Linked DNA regions of Homo sapiens: all the other regions are linked to region 1. The links are contacts of gene promoters, found by promoter capture Hi-C in blood cells and fetal thymus (Javierre and others, 2016). All regions are on one chromosome and are shown on one strand. The core of a region is centred on a gene start or on the middle of the fragment in contact, and the rest is flanking DNA. Distances in the headings are between cores, read along the strand shown. Region 1 holds the start of TAF3 (TATA-box binding protein associated factor 3). Region 2 has its middle 24 kb from the start of LINC00709. Region 3 overlaps LOC101928272 (a long non-coding RNA gene).

Region 1 (4,611 bases), core at 1,326-3,825:
CACATAGAGTGGCAGCTCCCTTCTGTTTTGTATAAATGGCAGTAAAGGTAACTATGTATTCAGGAGACATTTTGAATATCTAAAGATACATGGTAGCAAACATAATCTGGACTATGCCTAGCCTAGCCTAGCCTAGCCTATCACTAACGGTATACTCAAGGACCACTGCAGCGGAGGCCAGAGGAAAAAGAAACAAAAGCCAGAAGAGTAGTCAGCTGGTGATGTACTTTCAAGATAAAAATGCACGCATATTACTTTGTGGTTCCACATTCAGATGTATCAGTGAGCTGGGCATGGTGGCTCATGCCTGTAATCCCAGCACTTTGAAATGCTGAGGCAGGAGGATCACTTGAGCCCAGGAGTTTGACACAAGCCTGAGCAATATAACCAGACCACATCTCTACAAAAAATAAAAAGATTAGCCAGGCATGGTGGCGTATCCCTGTAGTCCCAGCTACTTGGAAGGCTGAGGCGGGAGGATCACTTGAGCCCTGAAGTTCGAGGCTATAGAGAGCTAAGATCGCACCACTGCACTCCACGCTCGGCGACAGAGTGAGACCCTGTCTCAAAAGAAGAAGAGTAATAGAAGTATCAGTGAAATCAAGCATTCAAAACATATACATTTTTGGAACTCAATATGTAAAGTCAATAAGTGGCTTTTAGGGTAGTGGTTTATCAGTTCATTCATTTATTCAACAAATATTTCTCAGGTGCCTATTATATAATGGCCCTACAGGTTACAGAATACAAATATAATCAATTTTTCTCCTGGAGAGGGGAAAGAGACATACACAGGTGATTACAAAACAAGATGACAAATAATATAAAAGAAATATGCACAGAATTATGAAAGCAGATAACATGAGTTCCCTAGAGCAAGTGATAAGTGCATCTGAAAATAAAAGTAATACTATTGGTGGGCCACGGGCAAAGGACACTCTAGGTAAGAAACAGCACGCATGTAGGAATGGACAGCTTAAAACATTTTGGAAAAGGCAGGTAGCTCAGCGTGGTCGCAGATTAGCATGGCAGGCTGGCAAAAGGTAAGCAAAATGCTAGCTCACAAAGGGAACTGTGTACTGCTAAGAGTTTCGATTTTTAGCCTGTAACCAACGAAGTATAGTTAAAATGTTTTTAAGAATAATGACAGGATCAGATCTGTGCTATGGACAGATTATTTTGGCAGCCCTGTGGAAGCGGGAACGAAACTTGGGGCCTAAGAAATACAGCGTGTGTCTGTGAGTCTCAATTTTCCAGTATAGGAACCACTTTAACAAAACAAAATATCCTATGAAACACTTCATTCAGTTCTCCAGCTCACCACCTTAAACATCATGACTTGAAACTAAAATGAGTGGTAGTTTCCTCTCCTCAACAAACACACATACAATGCTTCACATCAACAAGATAATGTGGAGCTTCTATTAAAATATTCCATTCCTTCCATTAAATTATTAAATACCACTAGCTATAGATATTACCAGACATTCATTTAAAACTCATAAGTACTGTAGCCCAGATTACCTGGAGAATCTTGTCAACTGCCCACGGTCCCTCTATCCTACTTCGATAGCCACTGACATCTCACTGGTAACCGAGACGTAAGTGAAAGTACATCTAATCAGCGAAACTGACAAAGTCAGCCTTGGAAAAACAGTAAATGGAGATGTCGTTCACGAAACGAACAGATACAGAAAGACGAGGCAGTGTCCCTAACGGAGCAGAGCTGTCAACGAGTCTATGTAGTTAGGAGCCCAGGAATGGCCAGTCTTGTAAGAAACGGCCGGTAGACGGAGCGCCTGTGACAACTAGTTGTAGTAGTTTGCGGGCAAGGGAGAAAAAGGACCGAGGTAAAAGAGGGTGTAGGGCACGCTGGGGGTGGATCTACCCGCAGCAAACAGGAGACAATGAGAGAGATCCAGACACAATTCAGAGCGGAGGAGCGGTAGGAGGGTGTGGAGCTGGGAGCGAAGACCCGACTCCCGGGCTGGTGGCGGGAAGTTAGCGGATAAGGAAGAGGCACCCGAAGGATGACTAGAGTTTGGAGCGGCAGTGGAAGCCCAGGGACGTGGGAGGCCGAGGAAACAGCAGATCTCGAGGCGGGGTGCGGGATGCACACCCCGGGGACGCGGAGGGACAGGGAGAGCGAAGGTGTCACCCTTGACTTGCCGGGGCAGCCCTCCCGCACCCAGCCCGGTACTCACAGAGCTCAGAGTACCGATGGCAGCCCCGGCCCAGCTGCTGCAGATAGCGCTGCAGCACGTCCGTGAGGAGGTGGCAGGCGCTGAGCTGCACCGAGTCCCAGCCCAGCGCCTGGCAGATCTGCGCCACCGAGACCCTCAACAACGACCTGGAGTAACTCTCGCACATCCCGCTGCGTGGACGCCACCGCAGCCCTTGCTGCCACTGCTCTCCAGCCCCGCCGCCAGACCTTAGCAGGGTCCCCGATTCATCCTCTAGGGCTTCCGCGGCGGGGAAAGGGTCCCCCGGACCCCCGGCGACCACCTCAAAGCCCCAGCAGCACGGAGCGCGCCAGCCTGAGAGCCGCCATTTTGGACTCGCTCCGCCTCCCGCTGGACGGCCGCCGGGGCGAGGCAGCATAAGCCGAATGCCGAGCGCGGCGATGAGAAAGCTCCGCCCCTTGGGAGCGGAACGATTCCTCGGGATCGCCTCTGAGGCCTGGAAGCCGGCCGGAAGCGGGCGTGGGGCGCGCAGGTGGAGGAGGCGCCCAGGGCGGCAGGTGCTGGGGCGCTCACCTGGGGGACAGCGGTGACGAAAACGCCAGTGTTTTAGAGGCAAACGAGGGATCTGGGATACGACATTGACAGGTTAGAGAGTTAGCACTAATAACGTTAGTCATATTAGAGAGTTATGTGCTAGAGAGAAGTTTGGGGCGTGGGAACTTACGGAGCTCGCCAAACGCAGACCTGCGCTGGTGTTGCCTCAGCTAAAAATCTGTGTATTGAGCTGCTTGCCACTGCAAAGATTAAATAAAGTCCAAGCTGTTCCGCATGCCCTTCAAAGCCCTTCGCAATAGGGCAGGAACTAGGAGGACTCTGTGCCAAATTAATGGGGGCCTCAAAAAACTCAGTCATCAAGATCGATAATATTTTAACAGTTTTTTTAAAAAAATCCAAATCCATGCCATAAACTCCTGACTCACTCATGTCATTCTAATCCCAGCCCTGGTTCCAATAAAACTTTTTTTTTTTTTTTTTTTTTAAAAAAAACAGGTAAGCTGCCTGTGGGCTATAGTGTGCGATTTGAGCATCGCGGCTGTGACCTATCGGGGGATGGGGACCTCGGCTGCCTACAGAGGCCAAACCGAGCCTTAAACCGGTGTCGCAGGCCGAGTGTCCTGGGAACGGTTGCCTACCCCAGAGCCTTCTCCCAGCTCCATCCAAGTATTGCCAGAAATCGGATTTAGGGATAAATATCTTGATTTTTAAATACAGAATTGGGAACACATCTCAAAAGCCAAACTGATCCCACGGTTAGTCTAGATTCAGCCTGCAGGTCGCCCGATTGTAGTGGCTGAACTATGCGGTTTCTTAAATATGCCCTTCTGTACTTATCACAGTGTATTTAGTTTATGTGCTCCTCCAATAAATTGCGAGTTTATGAGTGGCTCTATATTCCTCCGACAGGGACTATTCCAGAACTTTGAACATGATATTCACATTTTTCAAAGTCTGGGAAACTCAATAATAGAACTGAAATTATGGTTCTTCAGCTAAATGACGATCTGCAGAGAAGCAAGGTACTAAAGGGCAAGGTGCCTGCATTTACTCCCTGGACACTCTGTCCCCAAGTTATCAGGAACATTGTGTTGCTAAATCTATGAGACATTTTTCAGTCCTAGCCGTACTTGATTATTTTGTAGCTATTTGATAATGTTGAACGCTTCTGTAACATTGAAACTCTCTTGCGCCTTGGATTTCACAAATCTGTCCCGCTACCGCCGCCACCCTGGGTGTTTGTTCCTCTTCATTTGCCTTTCTGTGTATAGGGGAGGGGATTTTATTTCGGAAAATTTCAAACCTACAGAAAAGTTGAAACAAAATCATAGACTCACGTGTACACTTCAACTAGATTCACCAATTGTTAACATTTTGCCAATTTACTATATATTTTGTATTTATATATGCACGCAGGTATTTTTTTTCCAGCAGTTTGAAAATAAGCTGCAAACTTCATGACACTTAACCCCACCACACCTCGACATGTATCACCCCAAAACAAGAACATTCCCCCACATAACTATACACAAGACCATATGTCACAGGCTTGGTTCCCCAGGAAGTCAACTCTGAAATAGAGATGAGCCTGCAGAAAGTTCATTGAGGGATCCTCCTGGGACTTGGGGGAAGGAGTGAAAGCCAGGGTGCAGTGAATTCCTTGGCAAGAAAGCCTCAGCCAAGCCAATGCCATAGTGTGCAGAAGCTGGAGTGGCCCTTCAGAGCTTCCCTGAATCCAAACAAGAAGACTGGACCTTTATATTCCCATAGGAACAGGTCACTGCATGAGGGCTACCTGGGAAAGGGTGTGTGCTCTCAGGCAAAGGAACACTGCAGCTGAGTCCATTCAATTCCAAGGACAGCTGAAGTCCTT
Region 2 (4,611 bases), core at 1,342-3,841, 1.5 Mb before region 1:
CAAGACAAAAAGTTTTGGTTAAATGCGAGTGTACCTTTCTGCAAGACCTGGTATCATCTGGGGTATAGAAATGGCATCAGGCATTTCTATTTATTTATATAAGATGGAGGGTGCTGCAGTCTTGGCCCTTGTTGCAGAACTTTATGCAACACCTGTGCCCGTGTTTACAGGGCCCTTCTCATCATTTAAGCCTCATTAACCACACCAGAACTAAATTGCACCATTTCTTCTGGTTTAGGAACTTGAATGACAGTGGTGAAACGTCACTGGAATTATGCATGTCACTGAGTACCACAAAATGAAAGCTGTGAACACTGAGTTTAGTCACTGATATAATAAAGTATTTCATTGTGTGACAATTTTATCCCTGAAGCATTTCCTTGACATAGCGTTTGAGAACACTGTCAAAAAAAGGATCTTACAATTGCCTTAGATAAACTCAAATCACAATTATCAATATCATCTGACTGCTAGAATAACGCCTTAACACATTAATCTCTATGATTTCTAACTACTGTGATCAGATTCTGTAAAGTATTTTCTAATACTACGTGGAGAATTGGCAACACAAGCATGGCAATCAAGGGAAAATCTATGTTCTCCAATAAAAATGTAGTATTTTGGGAGGCCACTGGATGTCAGACTTCACTCTAAAACTGTTGAATTGGTTCAGTCACATTTATCATTCAATATTTCCCTGAATTTGGAGTTCCTGAAGGTAAGGCATTTTCATATTCTTATTATCTTTTCTATGCCTATTAGTTTCAACTGAGCCTAATTATATTTTTCAATGAATATATAAATTTAAAAAGAACACAGATTTTGTTTTTTAGTTTGATATGCCCTCATAGTTTCTCACTTTCTTTGAGATGATTCTTCTATTAATGTTAAGATTTTGGGCATGGTGGCTCACATCTGTAATTTCGGCTCACACAGTGGCTCACATCTCCCCAGCACTATAGGAGGCCAAGGTGGGAGGATCACTTGAGGCCAGGAGTTCGAGGCTGCAATGAGTTATGAATGCACCTCTGCACTCCAGCCTGAGCAACAGAGTGAGGCCCTGTCTCTAAATTTTATGTGTATATATAATTTCCGCATTAGAGAGAAGGAGTAAAATTAACAAATAACCTCTTCACATTCTGTACAAGTGAAATTTGTTGTTTGGCTTACTGCTGATCTCAACAATAGCGTCACCATAAAGATGAATGAATTTCTCCATTGTTTCAAGCCCTCTCTGCTGTTCACACTCTTTTGGCCTCACAGATTATGTCCGGTAGTTTCTCTTGGCTGAATGCTAGGAAATATGGCAGAAGCGATGAACTAGGTAGGTACAAGAGAACCTAGGTTCAAATACATGCCCTTCCACTTCTTAGCTGAGTAACTTGCGGAATATTGCATATTGTCTCTTGACCTCAATCTTAAATGTTATAAAATTAAAATAATATAGATTCATCTCAGAAGTTTCATTAAGACGGTGTTTTATTATCTCTACTTGATAGCCGGCATGACAGAGTTGGGTTAAATTTCTAGGAACAATCATTTCAGTCTTCCCAACAATTTCAGACTCCCAAATCCAGCCTGGAGAAGCTTTACCCACTGAACCACTGAAAGTGGCTTTTACCAACAGGATGTTTTTGCTCCTCAATAGGGGACAAAGATGGAACTGCATGAGAAGCTGGAAGGAATTCATTTGCTGGACCTAACTCACTCAACCAGATGGAAAGTTGGGCATTAGCACAGTGCCCTGGAGCATGTGTTGGGCATGCAGTTTGTTGCCTCATTGGCCCCAAGTCTTCCTCCTACATGCTTCTGCACATACTGGCTTCATTGTTTCATTGTTCTACCCCACGGGCAATCAGAACATCTTTAGTCAATGTGCTTCCAGGCTAACAGAAGGCAGCAATGTTTTGTATCTGGCTTTTACCAAGCGTCCATCTTTAGTACTGAGTAGGACTTGCATGGAGGCAGTGGATGCATGCTTGTGTTTATCTCAGCCTTTAGCATCAGTCTGGATACAGGTAATATCAGTGGAAAATAGTGGCATCTCTTGCTCACATACACTCAAAGAACTTGGACAGCAACAAACACCGACTTCTGCATTTCTTTAAGTTCCCAAAACTCTTTGGCATAGTTTTCACGTGATTTTTCAGATTTTTTTTGTTTGTTTTTTTGTTTTTGAGACAGAGTTTCACTCTTGTCTCCCAGGCTGGAGTGCAATGGCACGATATCGGCTCACTGCAACCTCCGCCTCCTGGGCTCAAGCGATTATCCTGCCTCAGCCTCCTGAGTAGCTGGGATTACAGGCACCTGCCACCATGCCCGGCTAGTTTTTGTATTTTTAGTAGAGACAGGGTTTCACCTGTCTCTAATAAAGTCATGAACTCCTGACCTTAGGTGATCCGCCCTCCTCGGCCTCCCAAAGTGCTGGGATTACAGGCGTGAGCCGCCGCGCCCAGCCTGATCTTTCAGATCTTGTCATCATCTTATTATCTGAACTTGCTTCAGACATTAGATCAAAATGAATCTTGTGCTACTGCATGGATGACGTGGACAGACGGAACTTTTAGGAAATCATCAGCTGACCAAATCTCACCAATTGATTGTGGGTAAAAGTACGCACAGAGGGACATTTTCTATGTTACCAGATTTTCTTGGCTTGAAGCAGTGAAGGCTCCTCTGTACAGTAAACCTGACTTCTCTTTAGTACTATAGCTTCTCTGGTCCTTCTGATCTCTGCTTACCTAATAGATCTCATTCACCTCTACATCTCTGCTCTACTACTGCTTACTCAGGTGTGTCCAGTAGGTAGGCCACTGATGAATTTGCAGGGTACAAAAAGAGCTTAATGGATGGCTTAAAATATGGCTGTAACTCAAATCATCATGAAAAGGGATGGAGATGTATTTTGTAAACACTGCTGTGCATCAATAATAGTCAATCCAAAAGATATACCGCAAAAAATCTACTTAAGAGACCATGAGTGAGCACGTTATTTGTGAGGAATAATTAACCCTGCGTAGAATCTAAATATAACTTTGCAATATGAGAATATCATAACTTCTTTAGTATATTGCAGCCAAATATTGAGTTGAAGAAATATATTTTAATTGTTAAAGATCACTGTCAGGGACAGTATTTTCTGTCTTACTTGTATCGAATTGTGTTAACATGTAATTTATGGCCAGCCTGGGTTTAATGCAGTAATTTGGATTCACAGTACTAATTTTCATTCATCACAATTCACTTCTTCATTTGTTGGGCTAATGATCCACAAACTAAAAAAAATAATAATAATAATAGAAGAAGAAAAAAAATGTGTGAGGCTGCAGTATCAGGTATCAGAGAAAGAATCGTTTTCCCCCATTATGACTGTTCAAGGCAATGTTTACTCATCTGCTTGGAGGATTGGTCTCTAGGAACCCCTTGTTTTATTCTTTTCTATGTCTGTTTACAAGTGACAGATTCTACCTATGGTATTTTTTATTTGTTTGATGAATGAAATAAAAACCATTGAATTAATTTGCTTGGATAAAGGAGCCCAGGGGTATAATAGGCAAATGTTTCATGTTATTCAGAACTCAAAACAAAAGCTTTATTTTCAGAAATATTTGAGTCTTTATAAAAAGAAAGAATAGAATTACATATAGACACATACACATAAATATATATGTATCTGATTTGCTCAATAGATACATTTAAATTCAGACATAAATAATTATCTAGAAATTATCTGGTATGTATTATTGCTTAAATACAAATCAAATTTCCTTTAAAATAATAACATTACACCTTGGGTTTGTGATAAGTGATCGTCAACCTACTTGCTTACCTCTAGTCCCCAACTCGGGGTAGTTTTTATAATGTCACACAGAGATCATCAATCAAGTTTTTGCTTTTAATTTCCCATGATTATTATTAGTATTATTTTTGGTTGATAGGAGATTTTACTCATCTAAGGATTGCAGGAGCCAGTCCTTTAACAGTTAGAGATGAAATGAGAATCAATTTTGGCCAATAAACAGTGAACGGTGACTCAAGGCATCAGGTTAGAGTTAAATTCAGGGTACTGTAAAATAGTAACCTCATTGAGGATCAAAGTCATGCTTTTTTATCCAGCGCTTCTTTGTGACAAACACATTATGTCAGCTCCACTAGCTCATTTGTCTGCGGCAGTTCCACTTTATCAGGCTGGAGTAAAAAGAATTGATGTGTCTGGATAGATAAAGTAAATGGAAACTCAGGACTCATTCCAATATGCTGTACTTTGATATATTTTGCAAACCTGAGAGCAGCTGGTGTAACACTAGTTACTGTTTGTATTTAAATATTGTACATTAGAAGACCTTTGAAAAGGTGTTTTATAATGTTTCTCTTTTTTTATTTTTTAGCACCTATTGGCTTTCAATTGTTCTTTTTTCTTTTATTTTCTTATTCATAAATATTTTCAGAGCCTGCTCTTTCAGAAACTTTTGTCTCATTTCCAAGTCAGACAAAGCAAGTTAAGATACTTTACAAAGTGCTAATTGAAATATAATTTTAAATTAGAGTGGTTATTTGCCTTTGCCTTATGTCTTCATTCTTTATAAAATTAAACTGGGGCTTTTTTGATTT
Region 3 (4,611 bases), core at 1,099-3,598, 1.4 Mb before region 1:
TTTAAGGCAACTGCACTGCAAAATTCCAACCTATAGTTGTCAGCACTGAGTATATGACAATAATTCCTAGCAAGGGACAACTGAGATCCAGTGCCATGCTCTCTCTTAACAAGTCTTCCCATTCTTTCTTACTTTGTATTGTCACTTTGGGTCTTTTGCATGTCCAATGACAAAGCCATCACAAAACTCTCAAAAACTGATCCTATAATGACAGCAGTGTTTCACTTTATAAACTCAAGTACTCCAAACAGTAATTGAGATCAGAACAGAAATATGAACGGTACGTGTGCATTTTAAAATAATATTAGTAACAAAATGATTAATTTATTAAATGAACTAACCATATTGCCACACAAAGACAGCCCAGTATGCAGGCTCAAGGCCTGAAGAGTGGAATATAAACACATGTACTCCAAACAAGAAGAAAGTGGGCACTGGATAGCACTTCTAAGAATACTTAATTGTGTGCATATTTTTTTGTTGTTGTAATTTGGATGAATTCCAACTTTTCTGAAAGAAAACATTTGCTTACATATTAAGAAAATATATAGCAGAAAAACAGAAAGGTAACAAATACCAATTTTTTTCTTTTTAAAGAAAATATTTAAATTATTTTAATGGGTGAATATACATGAAAATGATCCATTCAGTTCACTCTGCTTAATAAAAGTTATTTCAAATAAAAAAGTCATTGTAAGTCAGGGTGTTACTATTTACATATCTTATCCATATTGTCTTTATATGTTTCTTCTTTATGTTGAAGCTTGTTAGCAGTTTATGGTTTGTTAAAAATGGCTGATGCCACTAAGCTCAAAGTAAATGAACATTTATGTGCCAAAGGCCCCCTATAGACTGGTTAGTACGTATGCCAAGGAAACAAATCTCAGATAACTGGATTTTCATTTTAGCTTTGTGGATTACCTTGAATGCGTTATATATTTGTATTAACATAAGAAAATATAAATAATGTCTTTCACGTAACAAAATAATTCTATGTCTTAGGTGAAATAACTCCACTCATATTTTCCCCTGCCAAATAAAAAGTGCTGAGCACAATCTTTCATGTAAGATCTCATTTCTCCTTTTAAACTTCTCCTATGAATGAAAACCAAATGGCAACGCAGCATTGAAAACCAATGCCTACAAAAAGTACACAGAGTTTGTAACATTAAAAAAAAGCAGGAGCTAATGACACATAACAGGTAAATAAAGGGGGAGGGGACCCCTGAACTTATACCAGGCGTCCAGGATAACCCTCTTGAAGTCTATTAGAAACATGCATTCATCAGTACAGCTCTTTGAAGGGCTTGGAAGATGTGAGGTTTGAAGGAAAAACAAAATGCTATTTTTTTTAAAAAATAAAAAGTGCTGAAAAGGTAGGGCTGCTTGAATTGTTAACCAATTCAAACCTAAATGTTCTGGGTGAGACCTCCATTGCAATTTACCCAGAAGGTGGGAGAAATGTTTCTGATATATGTGGAATAAATACAGAAATCAGCAACATAATAGAAAAACAATGTGCCCTTCAACATCAAACTGACAACAGGAAAAATCTCTCCATGTTCTTCTTTCTTAGTTCATGCGTTTATTAAACACACACATGTGAACTGCACCAGGTACTCTAAGTTGGAGAGCTTAGGTTGGTATAATCACAACCTTGGTGTGAGTCCATATCAATACATCTTTGAGTTAATAGTAATGCTATTAAAATAAATGGGCCGAACCATTGCGATTTTTAATCACTAGAAATTCCCTGATCTTATAAAGAGTTGCTCATTTGGAGTCCATTTTAAGTACTTTAAATCTTCGTTCAAAAATATTAGTAAATTTTTATTTTGCCTACACATTTGTTCATTCTACACACGCTACATCCAAACCTAGAGGGGAAATAGTAAAACTAACTTAAAATGAAAGATACTTTAACAACTACTTCTGCTTGCTTATTACATACATTGAATTGTTAAGATAGAAGAGAAAATAAACAAAGTCATTGTATTTTATTTTCTATGTAGGACACGGTGTCCAAGCAAAACAAACGGGGTTTGGTTGAACATGCAATACCGGATGTCGCCACTGGATGGCAATGCCAGCTTTTGTCTCTAAAATGTGCATGGTACCTTTGATGAGATTTAGCGCCACAACCCTTGGGTCCTAAGTTTCTCAGGACCATCAAAGTGTAAATACGCTGGGGTGAGTCTCCAGCACACATCTCGCATTCCTTTGGGATCTGTCGTCTTCTGGTGCACCCGATGCTAAGGCAGCCCATAAAGCTTCCTTATTTGCTATTACTCTTTGGGAACCTGATGTTCAATAGAATGCCAAGTTCATAAGAAGAAAAAAGGTTACAAAGAAAGTGAATAGGAGGTGAGATGGAAGTACAAATAGGGCACCAGATTCCTTTCCGCTGCTGAATGATGTTAAGCTTGCACAGGACCAACATCTCAAAAATATACTTGTTATGAATTCACTTTCTACCATATAGCAAGAATAGCCTTCACTCTTTTCAGCATTTTATAGTCTAAATCACTTGTTCTCACAAGCTATACACACACACATTCTGACATGTATACACACTTCAAATAAATGTTTGTAGTTGAGACAATTAGCTGATGACAGTTTAGTTTTCCACAGTGAATTGGTTTTAAACTTACAGTAAGGAAAAAACCTTTGAAAACATTATTTTAGGTATACTAAAGAAGCTAAAGGTTTTTACAACGAATTTTGTGTGGTGTTAAAATATATAAATATCTAAATTTGTATTAATTCAAAGATTAATGATAATTATGAAGGTGTTAGATATTATCTGGAACAATGAATCACTTCTGTTCAGAGAAGGAAGGATTTAATGCCAAATAACTTTGCTTAGTTATATGGATGGGAAACATGAGTGGGGTAAAATGATCACATTTTTAAGGTAAAATAAAGAGGGAGAAAATTTGTGTAAATATATGAAATAAAAAAAATTGATAAATTTAATTATCCTTAGTTCAGGAAACACATTTATCTATAACTCCTTATTACTATTTTAACATATAAAAACTTTGGCAAGCAGCATGTCATGCTTTTCTAGTAAACAAAACTTAATAATTAACTTTTACAATTAGCTGACATCTATGGAAGTTACAGTTTGCACTAGGCCTCTTATATATCTTTCATTTGCTTGTGAAAATGATGTTCACACCCCTCTGATGGAAGATGAAATGGTTAAGAATACCACAGAATAGCAAAACAAAACTTGAAACAACAACAAAACTAGAATGAAAATTTGAAGCATATTATAGTATGTTTAAGTTTAGCTAGCACGGGAAAAAATGTTTTTAAATACCAAATTTCAAATTAAGTTTTCTTATTCTTCACAACACAAAACACTAGCTGAATAAACATATATTATTCAATGAGTAGTAGGCATATAAAAGGAAAATTTTCTCTCTGTTAATATAAGCCACTTTTAATTTTGCATGCACAGATTTTGTCACTAGATCAAGAGATATTTTTGCATATACCTTACATGGATATATTTGGATTTGTAAAAACAAACTAGGCAAGATAAAGCCAGGTTTTGAATATTTATTTTTTGTTTACTTCCCACAAGAAGTCCATACCTTATGGGACAACAAACCAGTCAAGTATATTTGGGGTTTCCTGATTAAGAACCAGAAGGAGGCTGGACAACTGTAGCTCACGCCTGTAATCCTAGCATTTTGGGAGGCCGAGGCAGGTGGGTTGCCTGAGGTCAGGAGTTCAAGACCAGCCTGGCCAACATGGCAAAACCCCGTCTCAGTTACTCGGGAGGCTGAGGCAGGAGAATCACTTGAACCCGGGGGCAGAGGTTGCAGTCAGCTGAGATCGCACCACTTCACTCCAGCCTGGGCGAAAGAGCAAAACTCCGTTTCAAGAAACAACAACAACAATAATAAGAACCTGAAGGGACTGCTTCTGTCTTTCCATCACACTGGCAGATTCTTGCATAGAAGTGTGGCCTTATTCAGGAGCACTTGGAAACAACCAAGGCAGATCTACTTTGTGCTCTTAGATAATTGACTGAGTAAAAATACTAATTTTCAAAACTTGCTTCACTTTCATCACAAAGCCAGATATAAATGGAGACAAAGTATTTGGTGCATATTTTAATTTTCTATTTATTTGAAAACTAAAGTTGTATGGACTAAACTTTGTTTACATAAAGTAAGGTGAATTTGTAATACTGTCATATACACATGAAATACTATCATATGACATTTCATATATATGACATATATATGAAAGTCTGTCTAATATATGAAATCAAACAGATAATTCAAGCTAAAATCACTCCCCTTGGGGATCAGCAATCTCCCTTTTAATGTATATATTGATGTATGATTTAAAAACTTTTCATTTTTTAGAGTCCTAAGTTTCAGCTTCAATTTTTCTAGGGAAAATTTAGTCAAAGGTTTATGACTTCAAAGGATTGAAGAAATACCCTAATCTGAAATCTTGGAAAATGGAAAATGAGATCCTAAATATTTTTTCTCGTTATCTGTTGACCTTATACCTGAGAAGTAACTTTTAATTTTAAATTTCTTAGATCACAAAAGGATATTTCAGATTTCAAGAAATCATTGCTTCTAA

The links. Contacts are between HindIII fragments. The CHiCAGO score rates a contact against its expected background, and 5 or more counts as called.
Region 2: a fragment that was not itself captured here is called in contact with the fragment with the promoter of TAF3 in region 1 in 2 of 17 cell types (fetal thymus and M1 macrophages); the score reaches 7.3 in fetal thymus.
Region 3: a fragment that was not itself captured here is called in contact with the fragment with the promoter of TAF3 in region 1 in 4 of 17 cell types (M0 macrophages, total CD8 T cells, endothelial precursors and 1 more); the score reaches 11.4 in M0 macrophages.

The regions. Positions count from the first base shown.
Region 1 is chr10:7,816,469-7,821,079 of GRCh38, reverse strand. TAF3 (TATA-box binding protein associated factor 3) reads right to left here and starts at 2,575. Exons shown (of 7, transcript NM_031923.4): 1 at 2,205-2,575. The coding sequence starts at 2,370. It overlaps LOC105376392 (a long non-coding RNA gene), which reads left to right and starts at 2,717. Exons shown (of 3, transcript XR_001747356.1): 1 at 2,717-2,828. RefSeq lists enhancers at 1,863-2,380, 2,509-2,568, 2,381-2,899. The HindIII fragment of the contact is 11,971 bases long and covers 1-4,611 here.
Region 2 is chr10:9,297,363-9,301,973 of GRCh38, reverse strand. No RefSeq gene overlaps it. Among named protein-coding and RNA genes, the nearest start is that of LINC00709, 24 kb to the right of the region's middle. The HindIII fragment of the contact is 2,003 bases long and covers 1,590-3,592 here.
Region 3 is chr10:9,206,853-9,211,463 of GRCh38, reverse strand. All of the region lies in intron 4 of LOC101928272 (a long non-coding RNA gene), which reads left to right. Among named protein-coding and RNA genes, the nearest start is that of LINC00709, 66 kb to the left of the region's middle. The HindIII fragment of the contact is 152 bases long and covers 2,273-2,424 here.